3 separate regions of the Homo sapiens genome follow, and all the other regions are linked to region 2. Evidence: promoter capture Hi-C in 16 types of primary human blood cells and fetal thymus (Javierre and others, 2016). All regions are on one chromosome and are shown on one strand. Each heading gives the region's core, a stretch centred on a gene start or on the middle of the fragment in contact. The rest is flanking DNA. Distances are from core to core; before and after follow the strand shown.

What was found. Contacts are between HindIII fragments. The CHiCAGO score rates a contact against its expected background, and 5 or more counts as called.
Region 1: a fragment that was not itself captured here is called in contact with the fragment with the promoter of APBB2 in region 2 in 3 of 17 cell types (endothelial precursors, M0 macrophages and M2 macrophages); the score reaches 9.0 in endothelial precursors.
Region 3: a fragment that was not itself captured here is called in contact with the fragment with the promoter of APBB2 in region 2 in 1 of 17 cell types (M0 macrophages); the score reaches 5.3 in M0 macrophages.

Annotation. Positions count from the first base shown.
Region 1 is chr4:40,951,569-40,955,972 of GRCh38, reverse strand. The region is part of intron 6 of APBB2 (amyloid beta precursor protein binding family B member 2); the gene reads left to right. Among named protein-coding and RNA genes, the nearest start is that of NSUN7, 200 kb to the right of the region's middle. RefSeq lists a silencer at 1,423-1,492. The HindIII fragment of the contact is 8,676 bases long and covers 1-4,404 here.
Region 2 is chr4:41,212,629-41,216,641 of GRCh38, reverse strand. APBB2 (amyloid beta precursor protein binding family B member 2) reads left to right here and starts at 2,100. Exons shown (of 18, transcript NM_004307.2): 1 at 2,100-2,237. RefSeq lists enhancers at 1-38, 1-160, 3,728-3,807 and silencers at 169-218, 1,836-2,005, 2,416-2,725. The HindIII fragment of the contact is 4,637 bases long and covers 1-4,013 here.
Region 3 is chr4:40,735,888-40,740,088 of GRCh38, reverse strand. No RefSeq gene overlaps it. Among named protein-coding and RNA genes, the nearest start is that of NSUN7, 12 kb to the left of the region's middle. The HindIII fragment of the contact is 1,694 bases long and covers 700-2,393 here.

The DNA of each region.
Region 1 (4,404 bases), core at 684-3,183, 260 kb after region 2:
GTGAAACCCTGTCTACTAAAAATACAAAAATTAGCCGGGCGTGGTGGCACACGCCTGTAATCCCAGCTACTCGAGAGGCTGAGGCAGGAGAATCACTTGAACCCAGGATGTGGAGGTTGCATTGAGCCGAGATCATGCCATTGCATTCAGCCTGGGCAACGAGAGCAAAACTTCATCTCAAAGAAAAAAAAAAAGAAAAAGAAAAATATGTTTTGGTTAGGGGAGGGAGATGGAATCTTTTTATGTTGCTCAGGCTGGCCTCAAGCTGTTGGCCTCCAGCAGTCCTCCCACTTCAGCCTCCCAAGTAGCTGAGATTACAGGCACGAGCCACTGTGCCCAGCCTGAAAAAGAGTTTTAAGGCTAAATTCAAATAGTTTGGATTGAAGCGTTAAGCTCCGTCGAGAATAACATTGCTCCAAAGAGTCAGTAGTAGCAGCTGCCACTAAGACTTTGTAAGAGATCAGAAAGATCCCTTCAAGAATGGGAACATTGTGCAGATTATTCCTCTGATCTTTTCAAAATACAAATCACATCACATAATAGCTTCAGATAATCCTTTGCATAAAGGATGAATCTTTAGCCAGTGGGGCTTTACGCCTTATCACAGACCTCTCACCCCTAATCGAGTGACCTTTCTGTTGTAATGACATACAGTCTTTTTCCAGCCACATGACCTTGCCCTTGCTGTTCCCTCTTTCAGAAATGCTGTTCTCTCTTTCAGAAATGCTGTTCTCTTGTCCCTTCCCAAGGCTGGCTCCTTCTCCTACTTTAGGGAGACCTCACTCCCTTAGAGGCCTTCCCAGACATCCTCTTAAATAGCCCACCCTATCCCCAGACATGATTGTTTGCCTCTCTTATTTATTGCTGTATTCCCAGCTTCTAAATAATATTTGGCGTTTATAGGAGGTCATCGGTACAGAAGAATGAGTAAGTGGATGAATGAATGACTGAGTACACACGTCACATTTCTTCTTCTGTGGAGCCCAGTAGTTAGATAGAGTTTGATGGAAAAGAATGACTACCTGGCCGTACAGTGGTGCATGCCTGTAATCTCAGTACTTAGGGAGGCCGAGGCGGGCGGATCACCCAAGGCCAGCCTGGCCAACATGGTGGAACCCTGACTCTATTAAAAATACAAAAAATTACCCGGGTGTGATGGTGTGTGCCTATAATCCCAGCTACTTGGGAGGCTGAGGCAGGAGAATTGCTTGAACCTGGGAGGCAGAGGTTACACTGAGCCAAGATCGTGCCACTGCACTCCAGCCTGGGTGACAGAGCAAGACTCAATCTCAAAAAAGAGAAAAGAATGAGTACCTTTTCTTTTCCTAGGCCAGTGGTTCTCAAAAGTGGGGACTGTTAGAAATACAGATTCCTGGGCCCCACTCCAGAGTGACCGAGGCTCCCCAGCAGTGTACGTTCTCACAAGCCCTCCAGGTGACTCTCATGCTTGAGAACTAGTGTCTTAGGCCGGGTGTGCAGTTCCCCATCTATTGTCATCACCTCTGCACCCCTAGCTTTAAACCAGTGTCTGGCACAGAGTAGACAGGAAGCATTTGTTGAATTAATTAAGCCACCTTCCCTCTTTCCTCTCCACCCCGTGCCTTTCACACCCAAAGCCCTGGGTGCACAAATGTTGGGGAAGGGAGCGATTGCCTTCCTAAGGACCCGAGGGAAATCTTGTGCTCTGTAGTACAGACCTTGCTAAATTTAGACTTTCAGCTCACCCCTTCCTCCTTCCTGTGCCCTCCGCAGCAGGAGAGGAAATTTCCAGCTGCTGCTAGAAGCAAATCTATTTTCATTTGACCCTTGGATTTCTGCAGGTGAGCCTAGGGGGAAGAGGGTTATTAGAAGTGGGTTTGCTTCACACACTGGCCCCACCCGGGAGTGGTCCTTGTTCAGAAGCCAGGCCCCTAGCCCTGGCGCCTGAGGTGGCTGGAAGGAGCCGGTCCTTGCTGCTCACAGATGGGCTTGTTCTCAGGCCAAGTATTGCTTTTGGCCCAAGAGGCTCCCAGCACAAGAGAGACTTTGTGGGGCTCTTCGCCTTGCTATTTTTACACTTTGACTTCCAGGCCCTGCTTCCTGTTCCCTCACAAAAGAACAAAAAGCACAAATTACGAAGAGCCGCAGAGCCCCTTTGAAAGGACACCGATGGCTTTCAGCTCCCACTCTTGACCTGTCCCCTGTCAGCAGGTGACAGTGCCTTCAGTCAGAGGCAGTGATGACAGGAGACTAGAAAGGAGGGAAGGTGGAGAAGCATGTGGATCTCAGCCTCTGCAGCATGTGGAGAGAGGAATTTGATCTTTAAGGCTTCTAGCACGAGGGTTTTAGAAATATATGGGCCAGCTGGAGTGGCTGGCCTGGATTTACTGGAGCAGAATTCGGGGGAAAGGCATTTAAAGGAGGCCCCTGGATAGAGGCCTGAGTTGGAAGTGTTCTCATTTTTAATATCCCCAGAATGTCGGGGTGGATTGGGGCTCAGGGCCAGTCTGCGGGCGAATCTCGGTGCAATGACACACCAGTTGACCATGGTCAAGCCAGCTGTGGATCTCATAGCCTCAGCCTTGTAGCCATTGTTTGGTTATGTTGTCATCCTTATTTATTCATCTTCTAATTTCCCAATGCTGTCCATCTGGGTTTTTCTCAGGTCTCTGTAGAATCCTTTTTTTTTTTTTTTTTGAGATGGAGTTTTGCTCTTGTTGCCCAGGCTGGAGTGCAGTGGCGTGATCTCGGCTGACTGCAACCTACCTCCCAGGTTCAGGTGATTCCCCTACCTCAGCCTTCTAAGTAGCTGGGATTACAGGTGCCCACCACCACGCCTGGCTAATTTTTTTTGTATTTTTAGTAGAGATGGGGTTTCACCATGTTGGCCAGGCTGATCTTGAACTCCTGACTTCAGGTGATCCACCCTCCTTGACCTCCCAAAGTGCTGGAATTACAGGCGTGAACCACTGCACCTGGCCTAAAATCCATTTTTATATGAGGACATAGTTTACCTTTTTGGCTGTAAACCCATCTGCTGTCCTCTCTGAGCCCTAGAAATGGGGATAAAGATAGTGCCTCCTTCATAGGGCAGCTATGACAAACCACAAGCTCCTGCAACGAAGGACACAGGGCGCGTGATACAGCACCTAGTGGCGTCAGTGTCCTTGCAGTTGTTGCTGTTACTGTTACTAGCTTTTATAACATCCCAGCGGGAAGATAGCACTTGCATTCAAGACCTGAAGGACCTGGATTCCACCCTTGACTTCTAGCTGGGATTGATGTGAGCATTAAATGCAGCGATATGTATGAAAACATGCTTTGTTTTATGGATGGGGAACTTTTTTCCAAATAAAGGCCTCACACCCAGTCAGGGGGAAGCTCAGAATCATGTACAAATGCAAAGCAAGTTTATTCATTTGGGGTTGGTTTATGTTTGAGAGAAACCTAGAAGTTTCACAAGTCTACTTAAAAATGGAGAATGAGGGCATCAATCTTTATTTTAAAAATTATGAAATATTTAAATTAAAAATTATGAAATATTTTTGCTTCCTCATTAATTGAGAGAGAAGAGAGATATTTGGAGAAAGAGAAGATGTCTTGTCACAGTAGAGGCGTCACCAGCCAGGGGCATACACGGTGTATAATAAGGAAGACAGTCAGCAAGGCAGGTGGGGTAGAATCTGGACTTGCCGGACCTCCTCAGATCCTGGAAGTCCGGCCCTGCTGAGGGAGCCTAACTGACCTTCTTCTCCTATGAAAGTCACCATAAAATGATCTTTTGTCCTTTTTTTTTTTTTTTTTTTTTGAGACAGAGTCTCGCTCTGTCACCCAGGCTGGAATGCAGTGGTGCAATCTCGGCTCACTGCAACCTCCACCTCCTGGGTTCAAGTGATTCTCCTGCCTCAGCCTCCTTAGTAGCTGGGATTACAGGTGCCTGTCACCACACCCGGCTAATTTTTGCATTTTTGGTAGAGACAGGTTTCACTGTGTTGGCCAGGCTGGTCTCAAACTCCTGACCTCAGGTGATCCACCCCCCCTTGGCCTCTCAAAGTGCTAGTATTACAGAGATCTTTTTGCTTTGAACCATGATGATAATTTGACCCTAGAGATTCTGTAGTGAGCATTTTCCTTGGGACCTATGAAAACATGTTCTTATATTGTGACTTTAGTGACTCGAATGTGCTGCTGTAGTATTGGCTTCTTGAGACCTCCAATTTCTAGTGATGGTGATGATAACACTAACAGTGACCATCCATGCAGTGAACACGGCTGCTGCATGCCAACCTTTATTCTAAGTGTTTTATACACTACCCAGTGAGGCAGGTACTATTATGATCCCTGTTTTACAGATGTGCATCTGAAGCCCAAAGAGGTTGAGGAACTTGTCCAAGGACACTCACATAGGGAGTGGCTGAGCCACGA
Region 2 (4,013 bases), core at 851-3,350:
CACCGCCCGTGGCGAAGTCGGGCCGGGGGAGTTTGGGAACCCGTCCCCGGGAGCTCAGCGGCCAGAGGAGGGCGCGGAAGTGTTTCCTGGGTGAGCGCGGCAGCGGGACCCGTTTCCGGAAGGCTGATTGCATCAGGTGTGGAGCAGGGCGCCTCCTCGGCCCAACCTGGCGGCCTCTGCGCCTGCGCGCGCCGCCCCGCCCCCCCCCCCCCCCCCCCCCCCGCCGCCGCGGACTCCACCGCGGGTTTTCCTCTCCGTCGGGAAGAGACCGACCTGGGAGGGGCAGGCTCCGCTCACCTACCCCGGACCCCCGAGAGAGAGCGGGGTGGCCAGGCCGGGTTCCGGGGATCTGAGGGGAGCTGTGAGGTCCGGGAATAGAGTGCCTTGGAAAGAGGACCCGTCTGCAAGGTTGGAGGCTGGTCGATCTCCGCTCCTGACGGGAATGGTGGTCTTGGGCTGGTTTCCTTGCCTCTTTGGCCTTGAAGATCACAGACTAAGAACCACAGGCTCTCCAGTTCAGAGAGCCTGTATTTTCCCCAAGAGGTCTACTGTGGCCCTCGACTGTCCTTGGTCCACGGACGTGTTAGGTGGATCTTGGGGTGCAGAGACTCAGTCCCAAGAGTAAACACTTTTCATGAATTTATAGGGATTTCTCTGTGACAGTATTGTTTTTATGTTGTAGGAAGGAGGGACATGATTGCTGGCCTCCAGCTCGGTCTGAGGGAGATAATTGTTAATTGGAGAGGTTATTGGAGTGCAAAAGTCAGAAACCACCTTCCACAAGGCAGCCCCCCTCCCATCCCTTCGTAACAACCTCACTGAGTCTGCATGAGGGTCCCTCTATACACTCTATTCGCACCTTGTGCATTTCCCTCCCAGCACTCTACCTGTTTGAAATAACCGTTTTGAGTGATTATTTGATAGGTGTCTGTCACCCGGCCGGACTATAAATTCCATGAAAGCAGGGGCCTGGGCTTTTAAATTCACCACTATCCTCAGGCCTAGTACAAGACCTCGTGGATCCTTAATAAACTCATGTAGGAAAGAATAAAGTAATGCCCACCCCACTGCATAGAGTCCTCATAGGAAGAATCACGTGAGTTTTTAATTCGAGATCCTTGGTAGGACTGTGTGTGTGTGTGTGTATGGGTAGGGTTCTCTAAAGTGTATAGTCCTCACACCAGCAGCATCAGCATCCCATGGGAACTTGTTAGATATACAGATGCTTGGGCCCCACCACATATCTACCCATTCAGAGACACAGATTGGGACTCAGGGATTTGTACTTCAGCAAACCCTCCAGGCGATTCTGATCCAGGCTCCAGTTTGACAACCGCTGCCCTGGTGAAGAGCAATCCTAAGGATACTTTGGGGATGTCATTCACAGCGTCTGGGGCAGAGCACGGTTTACCGTTTACTGAGACTCGACTCTTATCAGGGCTTTGTTTGCACGCTTACAATTAGAGTTATAGATAATATTATTGGCAATGGAAAGGAAAACCTCCTTTTCCTCTCCGGCAGTTGTATCTCTCCCCTGATATTATCTTGTGATTTCCGGATCAAAGAAGAGTGTGTGTGCGGCATATGCCTGGGGGTGGGGATAGGAGGTAGAAGGAAGGAGAAGGTGTCGCCTACAACTTGCAGTTAGCCTGGGTGGGTGTGGGCAGCTCTCCTGTGGGGACATTTTCCTATTGCAAGGGAATGCTGGCGTGTGGGAGAAAAGCCAGGGCTAAGGTAACCCAACTGCCTTTTGGTGCAGACAGACACCAGCCACACGGAGGGGATACCCGGGCTGCACTGCACGTCCTGCCTTTGGGTCTTACTGGGGGACCCATTGCCTCCCTGCGTGTTCCCAGGCGATTGGGGAGGGTGCCTCCCGCAGGCCCTGCCGCCTCCACCTGCAGGGGTCGCCCTGGGAGCGCGGCCCGCCTCCTTCTGCCCGGCCCCCACCCCCCGGCCCCGCCTTTCTCCCATTCGGCCCCCTCCCCGCCGGGTCCCTCCAGCCTTCCCTCGCGCAGCCGCTGCCAAAGCCTGGAGAAGTGGAATCTCGTCAGCGCCGCTCCCTGCGCGGGACTCGCGGAACGGCACTGAGCATGCTCAGTTGCCGGAGCCCGTTCTGGTCTCAAGTAGGAAGCTAGTGCGCTGTAACCGCATCTGATCTGGGCGCTCCGGGAAGGGCGAGACTGGAGCAGAGCCGCTGGGCGCCGGAGCCGAGGCGAGCGCCGCGCGCACCACTGGTGAGCCCAGCTTTCTTCCTTGCCTTTGCCCCGGATTCCGGGGCAGCACGAGAGTGCTGGGGAAACACCCGGGTAGCGGCAGCAGCGTGCGGCGAGCGGCTGCGGGTTCCCCCGGCGGCTTCTCCTCTGCTCCCGGCCCCGGGGCTCCGCGGCCACTGCTGCCCGCTCAGCCGCAGCCACACCTGCAGCAGCTGCCGCGGCATCTGCAGCGGGGCGCCTGCTGCGGAGTCCCGTGCGCCCTGCGCCCGCGCCGCAGGGCCAGTGGCACGGCGACTGCGGGCTCACTCTCCTTGACTTCCATCCCTCCCGCTTCCCGGCGCCCTCTTTCCCTCAGCAGCCCCGGCTTGGCAGGGCCTGGGGCGGGGGAGACCGGGTTGGAGGCGGTGCGCCCGGGTGGGGACTGCAGAGGGGAAAAGTGAGGGTGGGCGCCTGCGGGAAGAGCGCACACCCCCTTGTCCTGGCACCGGCCTCCGCTGTGCCGCTCGGCTGTCTCTCCTGGGCGGCAGCGCGCTCCTGCCGGGGAGTTGGAGCCGGGGTTGGCTTCTCCACGAGGGGTTCAGAGGCCAGCCCATGAGACATGAAAGGGGGGAAAAGTTCCTTTTCCCCCTCGGTGGCAGAGAGAGCGTTTAACTAGAAAATGGCTGTGCATAGGGGACCGACTCCAGGAAACTGGCCACTGGGACCCGAAAGCCCCTGCGCTGCCCACCGGGCGGAATGGAGGGTGGTACGCTAGAAATGACATTTGTGCGGCGAGAACAGAGCTGGACGGAGGGAAGGATGCTGAGACCCATAGAAACAATGAAAGGTGGTCTTCACGTCGGTGAAGTGGTGTAGACTACGGGTTCGGGGCAAACAGCCGAGGGAGCATGGGACTAGAATTCAAAAAAATAAATTAATTTGGATAAATCATATGTGGAGTTGTCACCGACCGTTCTGTAGTCAAGTTCTGCGCGGTTTTAGAGCCACGACTGTCACAGACGTTTTTGGATGGATTGAGTGGTTGAGGAGGGTTAAAATTGAGAGGAGAATAAGGTCAGTGTCGGAAGCTCCAACTGGGCTCTCGGAGGGGACAGTTTGTTTAAGTCCCTCAGTCACTGGCTTTACATTGTGTCTAATTACTTACGTGAAATACCCAAAGGATTATCATAAAATGATGCCATCGGTGGTGTTTGAATTCCAAGGAATGAGGAAACTTTGTGAGGTTGGCATGGGTTTATCATTTGTTTTAATATTTCACTGATTTAAAAAAAACAAACACAATGGCAGTTTGATCTGTTGTTTCTGGAGTTTACTCTCTTAAATCTTGCTTTTTTTTTTTTTCTTGTCATGGTTTCAGATTTAAAATCTTGTCCCCAAATGGCCATAATAATGCAGAGTATTAGAATTTGTGTGGCTGGCCTTTTAGGAACAGATGGAATCCTTGAAAGGGGATTTCTTCATGAACTTAGGTAGCAACCTTCTCGTTTTCAACTTGTAGCTTGTAAGCAATATTTGTTCAACAGTTGTTTATCATAACTTGCAACATCCTAGAAATGGCATCGTTCGTGAAGGATGGTATTTGTGGCGAGAATGGGGAAACCTCCAGGCTGGGGAAATGCCGAGAGAACACAGGTGGCAGTAGAGTACAGTGGGTTGATCATAGGGCGGAAGGTGGTGGGGTACAAGTACAAGATTTCAATTGCTGTTCTTTCGTTGTCCATGTACTGTATGACCCCGAAGTCACCGACAGTCTTCGTAAACTGGATGTAACCACGTCTCTAGATATTTGCTGAGAGC
Region 3 (4,201 bases), core at 297-2,796, 480 kb after region 2:
AGAAATCTTATTTTCAAAGACTAAGATAAAATTTATTATTAATCACTGACATTTCTATTCATATGTAAATGAAGCACTATAATGCATGACTTCACTTAATCCCCTTTTTTCTACTTCGTTTTGCCAATAATTTTTTCACAAATTTATTAGCCCAACTATCTTGAAATGAATGTTTTCAGAGGAAGGAATTCTAATGTGGTGAAACCCAAATATAAATTGCAATATTTACTTACCAAAAAAGGATAAATATATTTAATTTTCTAAAGTAGGAGAAGAGATTGTTAAAAGGAGTTTTGAAAAAAATTAAGAGTATATGTTTGAACTTCATGCTGAAGTAAAATTCCTGTGAAAGTTTCAAGGAAACTGAAGGGTTAAACACTATAAAATGCTAAGTGGTTCTGTTCTTACCTTAGGGCTATATTTATATATTCATAATAAAATTAACTTTGGTCATTTTTCTAGTTAATTTGATCAGTATCTATTGTTGGTTCAAATAATCTAAGGCTTAAAATGAATTTTTTCATTGTCATTGGATTATCTAGATCAACCATTTTGCATTGCTGATAACTAGATTACCTAGATAAACTAGATAAATGCCAAATCTGTAATTCACATTCTGTTAATAGATACCACCTGTTCATAATGTCTCCACTATTATGAACTCTATTACAAATTATTTATTGTAAGTGTTCCAAAGCTTTGTAAGAATGGATCAGATCTCTCTTAAGTAAACATACTTTTCTCTATATAACATAATGCCTATTAAGTATCGTTCCCATAAATTCAGATGATATCATGATTAGCTCTTTAAAAATATAACATTGATCTCATATGCAAGAAAAAAGTTCATAAGATATTATAATATTCTAAAAGATTATAAAGTGTATATTAAATATAAAATATAAGCCCTTTTCATCTATGTTTTAAAATCACTTTAAAATTTTGAATCCTTTTAAAAAATTATTATAATGCTGGGTGCAGTGGCACACCTATAGTCCCAGCTACTTGGGAGGCTGAGCTGGGAGGATTGCTTGAGCTGAGGAGTTCAAGGCTAGCCTGGGCAATAAAGTGAGACCCCATCTCTCTATATAAATAAATCAATAAATATTTATTAAGAGAAGAATATTAAACCAGGCTTTTCAGTGACTCATTTAAGATTTCTTAATTTTTTAAGACCCAGCAGGATTTTGCCCTTGTTTATGTGAAAAAGAGTTAGAGAAATACTCTTTTTATTATTAAAAGTTTTTTTAGAGATTTAAAAAGATTATTTAAATTTGTATTATGAAAACTTCTATCAGATTAAGTGAAGATTTACTGAACATCTACTATCAGTAAGACAAAAATAAGACACAGTTCCTAGTCTTGTGGATACTTACAGATGCAACGGGGTGGGCAGAAAATTATAGTGCAGTATAGTGATACTGGTGCCTAAAGGGCCCAATGGAGCAAACAGAACCTCTACCCCAGATTTGGGAGAAGGGAGCAGGAAAGGTCTATTTAGAAAAAGTCACCTGATAGGCCAGGTGTGGTGGCTCACGCCTGTAATCCCTTTGGGAGGTCGAGGCAGGTGGATCACCTGAGGCCAGGAGTTTGAGACCAGCCTGGCCAACAAGACAAAACCCCATCTTTACTAAAAATACAGAAATTAGCTGGGCGTGGTGGCACGTGACTGTAATCCCAGCTACTCAAGAGGCTGAGGCAGGGGAATCGCTTGAACCTGGGAGGCAGAGGTTGCAGTGAGCCAAGATGGTGCCCTTGCACCACTCCAGCCCGGGCGATAGAGCGAGACTCTTGTCTCCAAAAAAAAAAAAAAAAAAGAAAAGAAAAAGAAAAGAAAAGATCACCTGATAGAACCTATAGCCTTCAGTAGAAGTTTGCATCCAACCCATGGCAACTCACCAGTAGAGAGTGAGCTGGAGAAACATATTTCTGATCTCACTTTTCCTGCTCTCCCCATCTGCTGCAATATCTACGATTGGCTGATTCCAACCCACAGTCTGAGAGCAAGGGAGCCCTTTGATGCATTCCATTCAGGGCACCCTCCTGGGGCACAGAGCATTGGAGGATGGAGACCACTTCTAATATGACATATACACTCTTTTTGTGAATGCCACATTAAAATAGTGCCCTTCACATTGTATGAGAACATTCTAGCCTAATTCGTTTGCAATGCAGGAAAGCCATTATTATAGAATAATCATGGTTTCTCAGCACATTCTTTGAAGGATTCTATTAAACCAGTGTGGAACTAAGAATGAATAGTATACGACAACAGTTTTTAAAAATCCAAAATTGAGTTGTACGTTATGTATTAATAGAAATGTGGGAAATGCAACTTAATTATTATATGTTTCTTGACGGTGGTTCCTGAGTTTTTCACCGGAGCCTAAGCTTGATTGTTTTTGGAGGTATTCTGGCATTAGCAAAGGGTTGGTAAAATTGTGGCAGATCTAAAAATTCCACTGAATCAATTATTTCATTGGGAGTGTTGGGTGTGTGCTTTGGAGTCAAAACAAAGCTCATGCCTCAATGCTAAAATATTGTAGCAAATCGGACTGCATGAAAGAGGCAAAGGTATAGTTTTTATAAAGATCCCTAACCTGATGCTCAGCATACATAATCTAATGGGCATGGAATTCCTTCGCGAAATGTCAGAGTCACCTTATACTGAAATTATACATGTTGCCTTGGTATTTAAATGCTTGAGCAAATATAAAAGAAAAAATATAGAAAATTAAATTGTGATTTCTTTTTCATTTTAACATTAAAGTTAAGGATCATGAAGAATCGTATGAAATGATGGTAGAAGATATTTAATATTTTTATATAACTAAATAAAAATTATCACTGCCCCTTCCCCCCACCCCTGGCAAAAAATGAATCCAACCAGACCAGGCCAATCAAACAAACACTCAAAACAAAAGCCCTGAAACAATAATGACTTCTCACTATGTTTGGATGCACTGTTTCATTCTAAACTAGATTTGGGGAGCCATCTGCTGGCAAATTGGTAAGTTGTTTATTTTTTTTTTATTGCATGTACAGTTAGGGTTGCCAGATAATTTATAGGATGCCCAGTTAAATCTGAATTTTAGATAAACAACAAATAATTTTTTAGCATAAGCATGCCAATACAGTTCAGTATTTACTCCATATGCCAATGCTACCCTGTTTCATTTTTTATTTTTTTTGAGACAGGGTCCGGTTCTGTCACCCAGGCTGGAGTGCAGTGGCATGATCTCAGCTCACTGCAACCTCTGCCTCCCAGGCTCAAGTGATCCTTCCAACTCAGCCTCCCAAGTAACTGGGACTACAGGCATACGCCACCATGCCTGGCTAATTTTTGTATTTTTTTGGTAGAGATGGGGTTTCGCTATGTTGTCCAGGTTGTTCTTGAACTCCTGAGCTCAAGTGATCTGCCCACTTCAGCCTCCCAAAGTGCTGGGATTGCAGGCGTGAGCCGTAGAACCTGGCTCCTACCTGGTTTTAAATTTAGAATTATATGTTTCCAAGTGACTCAGAAAAAGGTTTTCTTGAAATCTGGATAGCATGATTATTTAGGATTGCTCAACTCATATGGTTCTATTCACACTGCTCCAGTTTGAACTGCTTGCCTTTCCCATTGAACCCTACATCTGACTCCTTGTCTATTCTCTTTTTCTTCTGCTTTCTCTATTCTTAATTGAGCTCTGCTTCCTAGCCTGTGTATTTCTTTTTTGCTGCTACATTCTCATGTTTAAGCAATCTGGGTCAATTACAACAGATAAATGAAAAACCAGAAGATAACTGTGTTCTGGTAGTACCTTAGTTATAGAGTCTACTTCTTTAAAAAAGTAAAATAAAAGGCAGACACATGCATATTTTATATTTGACCCTAAAAATGTCAATTTATTATCAAGCTATCTTGCTCTGACTGAAAAAATTAATAAATAAAAATTGACCAGGCATGGTGGCTCACACCTGTAATCCCAGCACTTTAGGAGGCTGAGGCGGGTGGATCACTTGAGGTCAGGAGTTCGAGACCATCCTGACCAACACAGTGAAACCCCCGTCTCCACTAAAAATACAAAAATTAGCCGGATGTGGTGGAGGGCGCCTGTAATCCTAGCTACTTAGGAGGCTGAGGCACAAGAATCACTTGAACCTGGGAGGCAAGGGTTGCAGTGAGCCCAGTGGCGCCACTGCTCTCCAGCTTGGGCGA